3 separate regions of the Homo sapiens genome follow, and regions 2 and 3 are each linked to region 1. Evidence: promoter capture Hi-C in 16 types of primary human blood cells and fetal thymus (Javierre and others, 2016). All regions are on one chromosome and are shown on one strand. The core of a region is centred on a gene start or on the middle of the fragment in contact, and the rest is flanking DNA. Distances in the headings are between cores, read along the strand shown.

What was found. Contacts are between HindIII fragments. The CHiCAGO score rates a contact against its expected background, and 5 or more counts as called.
Region 2: a fragment that was not itself captured here is called in contact with the fragment with the promoter of STRAP in region 1 in 14 of 17 cell types (monocytes, M2 macrophages, M1 macrophages and 11 more); the score reaches 14.1 in monocytes.
Region 3: a contact is called between a fragment that was not itself captured here and the fragment with the promoter of STRAP in region 1, in 5 of 17 cell types (M0 macrophages, M2 macrophages, M1 macrophages and 2 more). The highest score is 8.3, in M0 macrophages.

Annotation. Positions count from the first base shown.
Region 1 is chr12:15,880,861-15,883,842 of GRCh38, reverse strand. STRAP (serine/threonine kinase receptor associated protein) reads right to left here and starts at 1,456. Exons shown (of 10, transcript NM_007178.4): 1 at 1,024-1,456; 2 at 167-302. The coding sequence starts at 1,135. It overlaps LOC102724146 (a long non-coding RNA gene), which reads left to right and starts at 1,545. Exons shown (of 6, transcript XR_007063230.1): 1 at 1,545-2,063; 2 at 2,644-2,736. RefSeq lists enhancers at 1,379-1,498, 1,809-2,038. The HindIII fragment of the contact is 32,342 bases long and covers 1-2,982 here.
Region 2 is chr12:15,568,850-15,571,831 of GRCh38, reverse strand. PTPRO (protein tyrosine phosphatase receptor type O) reads right to left here. Exons shown (of 27, transcript NM_030667.3): 19 at 2,334-2,415. Among named protein-coding and RNA genes, the nearest start is that of EPS8, 220 kb to the left of the region's middle. RefSeq lists an enhancer at 602-791. The HindIII fragment of the contact is 5,261 bases long and covers 1-2,982 here.
Region 3 is chr12:15,609,051-15,612,032 of GRCh38, reverse strand. No RefSeq gene overlaps it. Among named protein-coding and RNA genes, the nearest start is that of EPS8, 180 kb to the left of the region's middle. The HindIII fragment of the contact is 637 bases long and covers 1,275-1,911 here.

The DNA of each region.
Region 1 (2,982 bases), core at 207-2,706:
CACAGGACCACGATGGACCACGATGGAATTTTGGTGGGATCAAACATGCGTTCTGTATGGCAGCCAGTGAGTCAGAATTTTATGAATATCTGACACTGAAGTTTTTGATTATTTCAGGACACAAGCTACAGAGAACACCAAAGTTAGCCATCTTGGCTACACTTACGCTGTGAAATCTGCAGCTGCTGTAGCTGCTTTGGTGGCATCCTTATTCAGTGTTGCACCCCAAACAGCACCTTTATGACCCAAAAATGTTCCAATCCAGTCTCCTGTATCTCCCTGGCGTAGCATAGGTTTACCATCTAGAAAATATTTTTTAAAACATGTAATTTATAAGTTCAGATTACTTAAAGTCTAAGATTCAAATGTAAATATACAATGATGTTCAATGACAAAGTGGAAAAATTGTTTCAGCTATTTAACTACCACCACCCACTGAAGGCACTAAGGAATGTGCAGTAATAAATTAACTGAAGAGCTGAACAGATCATTCTCTCTGAAAAGCATCTGTAATTGGCTGGGAATACTGATCTGCGTCAAAACAATCTAGATTTTAGTCTTATTTTGGACAGACATCTTAGCCTGAATCTCAGTTTCCCATTTGAAAAATGAGGCTAATACCACAAAGGAATATCCAGTGAGACAAGAGCGAACGTCTTTGTAAGGTATTGCACGGCCTGGCCTAATTTCTCCTTTCCCCAAATCCTTGAAAGCTATTTACCGTGTTGTCCCGAGAGTCTAGGCAAATGCTGACCAGCTCCTTCAAAAATAGCAATAAAAATAAAATAAGGAGAGAGGTCTTAGTTGGAGGTAATAGTTTCTACAAAAGCGTCCTCTCGGCTCCAGCTGCGGATTCCCTAACACACTCCTTTCTCCACCGGACCAGTGTTGGCTCTCATCTCAGATGTTAATATCGCCCCCTCCCCCCTCACCACACCACCGCTTCGGCACTGGAGCGTGCGGGTCCCGATCCCTTTCAGCCCAGTCCCAGCCGTCGAGGACCAGGATTGCGGCCTTGCTCACCTTTGCAAGCGCTGATTAAGAAATACCCATAAGGCGTGATGCCACTGAAGGCCAAATCAACCACGGGTCGCGTGTGGCCAGAGCAGGTGAGCGGCGTCTGTCTCATTGCCATGGCGGCGGCGAAGCCAGCGACCGGACTGGCGAGCTGAGGGTCGTCGTTGTCTTTTCTCTCTTCTGCTGCAGTGCCTCGGGCTGCTCCAGGCCCCCGCCCTGACACTAGGGCTGGGCTGGGCAACAGGAAAAGAAGGGCAATCCGGTGGCACCGAGGTTAGGGAGGGGTGAGGGAGGGGTCAGGGAGTCTGCGACCAGCAAGCAACAGTCGACGAGGGAGGGAAAGGGAGGGAGGGAGGAAAGTAGGGGATGGGGAGAAGCGGAGAACCGGGCCAGCCACGATTCACAGCGTCCACACCGGCATCGGCAGGAAGTGACGACGTAAATGACGCAGAGCACCCGCCGGAAATGACGATTGGCGGGAGGGCGGGCTCGCCGGGTAGAAGTGACTTGAAGAAAGAGCGAGAAGTATAGAAGGGCGCAGGCGCTAGTTCAGTGCTCGTGAGGTAACTGGCGCTGGCCCACGCCGACTAAGGGAGACGCTCTAGGCACCGGGATGGGGTCCCTGTCCCCGAGCTCTAGCGGGTCAGAACGCCTTCCTGGTCCGCGGCCGAGTTGAAAGTTGTTCCCACTCCCATAAGTCCAAGGACCAGCGTCAGCTGTGTACCTGCCGAGCAGCCCTACTGAGGACTGTGCTCGGCCTCTGAATATCTAGACGGACACGAGCCATACCCAGTGACGGCCCAAACCAGCGAACGCTGTCTGGCAACGTTTTTTGCAATTTGTCTTATTTAAAAACCATATACGGGCTTGGAGTGGTGGTGCCTGTGGTCCCACCTACTTGGAAGGCTGAGGTGGGAGGATAACTCGAGCCCGAGAGGTCGACACCGCAGTAAGCGGTGCTCGCGCCACCGCACTCCAGCCTGGGCAACAGAGCGAGACCATGTATTAAAAAAAAAAAAAAAATCCCCAGTCATTTCTTCCGCTGTGTAAGTTTTCCTATGTTGCTAATGTTTTAGGAGTGGATACTATATAGTTTTAAATGCGATTAAATTCAAGTTACTTTTTCCTTGGTGGACTTCGGAGAACTCTAGAGTCGTAGATCCCCAATTTTTTTGATGAAATACTCTCATCCGTAAAGTGAGCCTTCACTCATTTTATAAGCGAATGAATGCTGAATTCTATCAAAAACTTTTACACCTTTTGATATGATGTATATATGAGTGATGATTTGCAAATTACATAGATGTGCATTATAATACATGGACAAAAATAGAAATATTAAAATAATATTTAAATATAAACAAACTCTGATATTGTCTGCAGCAGGCAGCCCACTGTGGCTCTGTGAAACCACCAGAGCTGTTAATTGTTGATACTGTTTCCTAACCAGGAGAGGGCTTTTCTCTGGGCAAGTTGTATCTTTATTGATAGAATGTAAACCCAATACAACAGAGATTTTTGTGTTTTCTTTGCTACTTTATCCCCAAGGTCAAAACGTCTGGGCACATAGCAATAAATATGTAATCAACATAAATGTCTGTGAATGTTTTCTTCATCTTTTTGCAGCAAACACCGTCTACAAGATTCGAGTCAAACAACGTGAGAACTTGAAATACGTCTCCATTCTTTTTCCTTAGTACTCTCGTTCATTCACTTACGGTAAAGCACTTACTATATATGTTTTTCATTTTATCTTGTTCGACTCCTCCTTTGTGCCATCCTCTCCCTTTTGTCTCACACATACGCACCACTCACACATTTATGAACTCCTTAATGGCAATGGTTATGGCTTTGTCATTTGTACTCTAGTGCCAGAAAAGTGAATGGCATTTAGTGAATACTCAGCATGACTGTTTACTGATTAAATAGATTGTTGCATTACTGATGGAGGTAAATAAAAGACCC
Region 2 (2,982 bases), core at 191-2,690, 310 kb after region 1:
CTTCTTAGGTTTTGCTACTTGAGCCCACATGGTTCCATTTAGAGATTCTGTGCATCTGCCCTCTCTGGCTGTGATTGGTTTGAATGGGCACCATGACACAGGCTCGTCCATCAAAATCCTCCCCTGTTAATTTTCAAACTACAAACAAGAAAGACAGACAGTAATTCCCTTTGGAAACCATGGAAACAAAAGGCTGTGGTGCTCAAGGGTTGTTGTTGGCTGCTTTTCACTATGAAAAAGAGGTTGGGCTGGGCATCGTGGCTCACGGCTGTAATCCCAGCACTTTGGGAGGCTGAGGCAGCTAGATCACAAGGTAAGGAGTTCGAGACCAGACTAGTCAATATGGTGAAACCCTGTCTCTACTAAAAATACAAAAGTTAGCCGGGCATGGTGGTGGGCAACTGTAGTCCCAGCTACTCAGGAGGCTGAGGCAGGAGAATCACTTGAACCTGGGAGGCGGAGGTTGCAGTGAGCCAAGATCGCGCCACTGCTCTCTAGCCTGGGCAACAGAGTGAGACTGTCTCAAAAAACAAAACAAAACAAAACAAAAGTGACAGAAAAAGAGGTTGTTTGTTGTTTCACTGAACACAAACATCTGCCCTCTCTGGCTGCGTTTCTCTTTGTTTCTCTTTGTTCAGTGAAACAAAGTGAAACCAAAACAGAGAGAGAAGCAGAAATGAGAAATAGAGGGGCCCCTGGCTCCAGTCATCCCTGAAACTGTGCTGCTTCCCTGCACGTAGTCTAGCTACTCAACCTTTTCTTTGATTGTATGAGATACCTTAGTATCCTTTGAATAAACCCCCTTTCCTTTAGTTTAAACAAGTTTGAGCTATGTTTTTGTCACTCACAACTAAAAGAATATGTTTACTGGAAAATGACTTGTTGAATTTTTTTTCATGCAATTCAGAAACAGTAATAGTTATGCTTGGGTTTCAAGACATAAACTGTGAGTTGCCAGCAGAGGTTATGATCCAGCTGTGCCACCAAGGGCATGCCATCTTGAAGGAATTAAGAAAATGTGGCTTTAATAAGGTAAAAGTGTAGCTATACCATAATTTCTATCATCGTTAGAATCATCTAGCTATTTATTTTTTCAGAGTTTTGCCTCATGTTTGCTTAGAAAAAAAGTCCTCCTTTCCTTGATATACTTTCTGAAATGCCATCCTCCTCATTCATTTCCAATTCAAATTGAATTTCTTTGAGTATAGCATTTGGTGTAGCATCTATAATATCCTATGCACCTGGATACAATGGATAAGTGAGCAGGCTCTGTGTGGAATTTTTCAGGACACAGGTGGTAGTTAGCGGTCTTTGTATTTGGTAATGTATAAGATTCTTCTCATCCTCAAATTCCCCATTAGTGTCTCCACACCAGGACCACTGATGCTTTTTGCAGACTAAAGCTGTCCTTGGCTGAGAAGTGGAAAGGAGAAATGATTTTAAAAACTGAAGAAAAAGCAGCTACCTTAATAGAAAAGAGCACTTAAAAGGCTTTATAAAAAAAAAAAACTACAGAATTTAGAAAAATCACTTTATCTTCCCCTTTTCCCTGAATCACTGACCACTCAAGCCATGCTATAGAAACCTGAAGGATGGGGGGCCATTTAGACTGTGTTATGAGCTATAAAATATGTAGAAAGAAAAAGTGAGAACTAATTATCTTCCCCCACACTGCTGAGATATTAGACTCACTCACTTCCATCTCTTCTGACATATGGTTTTAGATCCAAAGAAATATGTGTCCTTCGGAAAAAAAGAGATGTTGTCAATTTTTTTCTTAACACAAATCATGTGTAACTTTATCTCCCCAATTTGTCCAAGGAAAGAAAATAAAACTGCACAAAAGTTATTAAGTAGAATGCCAGGAGTCCTATAGCTTGAAAAGCCCTACTCCAGGATGTTATGTGCCCAGGACACAAAGGGGGTCAGTTTTATCCACTATCCGCCACTACTGTGGCCTAAGAAGCATGAGAAACACTACAAATCCCCTGAAAGGGAAATTCTGTCTCAGGCTTCATGCCTCAGCTTGCATTTTTCTTCTTGTACTCTCGATTTCCCTGGTTTTCAATGATGGCTTCTACTATACCCATGTTTGCTCACCTCAGTACCTGCACCTATTCTCTTCTTCCCCTCATCTCATTTGTGCCACCTGAGGCCTTGCCTACTAAGCAAGGATTGACAACCCTTGCTCTAAACCAGCAGATCAGCAATCCCCAGGCCAATACCCTTTTTGTTACGCACTGCCAGTGAGCAGGGACATGACCGCAACACAAACCCCCCAATTCCCAGGCCCTTTCCATTACAGAAGGTAGAAAATGCCTTAACCAACTCACCTCAAACTGAAGAGAAAATTTATAGTCAGAGTCTTTGGCCATATCCTTAATATAGGCATCAAAGTCATCCAGTTGAACCGGGCTTTGCCAAACACAAAGAAATATACATACATTTTAAAATTCTTGTTGATAGGTATTATATATTGTTTAATATCATACTTCTTAATCTTCTTGGAGAAAATAGAAGTTTTACTTCTCTAAGGTTAGCACTCACCTTTTTTTTTTGGTTCAAGTTACCAATCCTTAATATATTGCAATTGAAAAGAAGGGCATATATATCCAGCTTCCTTGATAGGAGAAATCTCTAGATTTCCACTTGGCTCTTACTGTAGCAGTACAGTAGTATATATATGCATACTCGTATACACACACCCCCATCTGTGTTGCTTCTAAAAAACTCTGGCATATGGAAAATAACAAAGGAATGGATTCCAAAGACCTGTTTGAGTTATGGTTTTGCTTTATTGACTGTGTTATCCTAGAGAATCGCCTAACTCTTCAGAGTCAATGTTCTCATCCATAAAATACAGTAGTTACAGCTACAGGGTTGACATACAGTACATAAAGAACTTTGTAAGTTTCAACAGCTTTACAAGTATAAGGAATTGTGCTGCTAGCTACAGTCTCCCCAAAGCAGAGGCAGGATCAG
Region 3 (2,982 bases), core at 344-2,843, 270 kb after region 1:
CTCATAATTACTAATCATCAGAGAAATGCAAATCAAAATCACAATGAGAGAACATCTCACAGTCAGAATGGCTATTATTAAAAAGTCAAAAAACAGATGGTGAAGCTACAGAGAAAAGGGAACACATATACATTGTTGGTGGGAATGTAAATTAGTTCAGCCACTGTGGAAAGCAGTTTGGAGATTTCTCAAAAAAACAGAACTATTATTTGATCTAGCAATTCCATTACTGGGTATACATCCAAAAGAAAACAAATCGGCTGGGCACAGTGGCTCATGCCTATAATCCCAGCACTTTGGGAGGCCTGAGGTTGGGCATTCGAGACCAGCCTGACCAAAATGAAGAAACCCCATCTCTACTAAAAATACAAAATTAGCTGGGCATGGTGGTGCATGCCTGTAATCCCAGCTACTCAGGAGGCTGAGAATCGCTTGAACCCAGGAGGCAGAGTTTGTGGTGAGCCGAGATCGTGCCATTGCATTCCAGCCTGGGCAATAAGAGCAGAAAACAAATCATTCTACCAAAAAGACATACACCTTCATGTCCATATAGCACTATTCACTACAGCAAAGACATGGAATCAACTTCAGTGCCCACCAACAATAGATTGCATAAAGAAATTGTGGAAAATATACACCATGGAATACTACCCAGCCATAAAAAGACTGAAATCATGTTCTTTGCAGCAGAATGGATGGCACTGGAGGCCATTATCCTAAGTGAATTAATGCAGAAATGGAAAAACAAATACTACATGTTCTCACTTATAAGTTGGAGCTAAACACTGGGTACTCATGGACATAAAGATGGGAAGAGTAGACACTGGGGACTCCAAAAGGGGGGAGGGACAGAGGTCGAGGCAAGGGTGAAAAAGCTACTTATGGGGTACTTTGTTACCTATGGGGTACTATCTGGGTGATGGGTGTGTTCACACCCCAAACCTCAACATCACGTGATATACCTTTGTAACAAATCTGTACATGTACCCCCAAATCTAAAATAAAAGTTGAAAAACAAAAGACAGACATGTAGACCAATGAAATAGAATAGAGTCCAGAAATAAACCGTTGCCTGTATGGTCAAATGAGTTTTCACAGGGGTGCCAAGACCAGTCAATAGGGGAGAAAACAGTCTTTTCAACAAACAGTGCTGGAAATACTAGGTATTCACATACAAAAGAATGAAGTTGGGGCCTTTAACTTGAATGGATCCGTGACCTAAATGTGAGACCTAAAACTATGAAACTCTTAGAAGAAAACATAGGGCAAAAGCTTTACAACATTGAATTTGGCAATTGTTTCTTGGATATTATACCAAAAACAGAGAAAGTATAAGGAAAAAATAGAAAACTGGAGTTCATTAATTTTTTTTTTTAGTTGTGCATGAAAATACACTATCAACAGAGCAAAAATGGCGGCCCACGTATTTGGAGAAAATGTTTCCAAGTTGTATGTCTGTTAAGGGACTAATATCCACAGTTACTGTTTAATGGGTATAGAGTTTCCATTTAACAAGATGAAAAGTGTTTTGGAGAAGAACAGCAGTGATATGATTGCATAGCATTATGAATGTATTTAATACCACTGAATCATACACATAAACATGTTAAAGATGGTGAATTTTGTGTATATTTTACCATAATAGAAAATTGAAAAAAAAATCTGTCTTAATATCCTTGTTTATTCTATCATCTTTGTAGCTTCTAGCTTGATTTTAATTGATTTTGTTGCCTTCACTAGAGGTCTCATTTCTCTGTATGGCATATAATTTTTAATTTGATGTCAGACATTGGGAATTTTATCTTATATGTTGCATACTTTTATTTTTATAAAATATTATTGAGCTTTGTTTTGGGATACTATTAAGTTACTTGGAAATAGTTTGATCCTTTCTGATCTTGCTTTTAAGCTTTGTCAGGTTAAACCAAAGCAGTATTTATACAAGGGCTAATTTTATCCCACCATTAAGCAAATCCCTTCTGAATATTCCACCTATTGTTCCACGAATTATAATGTCTTTCACTTTGGCTGGTGGGAATGAGAACTATTTCTGATCCTGTGTCAGCTCTGGAAATTGTTCCTTCCAATTCTTTCAGGTGGTTCTTTTCTCAGCCTTGGGCGGTTTTCTCCTATGTATGCCCTTATCAATACTAACTTGAAGAATCTATGGGGACCCTGTGAAGATCTGTGGAGCTCTCTCTTTGTATAGTTCTCTCCTCTCCGCCACTCTGTCCTGTGAACTTTAGTTCCCTTGTCCTTCTCACACTATCAACTTGTCTTCTCAACTGAAGGGATCTGGAGTCCTCATGGTCTCCCTGCACTATAGCTTAGAAACAATCTTTTTGTTTTGTGTGTATTTTTTCTTTTTTTTTTTTAGAGTCAGGGTCTCACTAGTCTTAAACACCTGGCTTCAAGCGATCCTCCTGCCTTGACCTCCCAAAGTGTTAGGATTACAGGCGTGAGCCACTGCACCCAGCCAGAAACAATCTTTAGGCAGAAAGCTGGAACAATTGTAGGATTTCCTCATGCATTTATCTTTCTGTGATGACTGGCATTCATTGCCTAGTGTTCAATATCTTGAAAACCGCCCTTTCATATATTTTGTTTTTTTCAATTGTTTCAGAGTGGAGGGTAAATCTAGTCCATCTGACTCCACCTTGGCCAAAAGTGGGAGCAGTTTCACCTTGCTTTTTAAAGCATATTTTCACTGTATACAAAATTCTAGGTTACCATTTTTAACTCTAGCACTTTAAAAATGCCATTTCATTGATTTTTGGCTTTCATCGTTCCTGATGACATGGCAGCCATCATTCATGCTTTTCCCTTTGGCTTTTTTCAAGGTTCTTTTTGGTATCTTTCATTTTCAACAGCTTGATTATAAAGTTAATGTGGTTTTCTTGGTGGTTTGCCTATTCAGGGTTCATTGAGTTTCTGGATGTATGAATCAATGTTTTCTCATCATTAGAAGGCATTTTCCTCTGA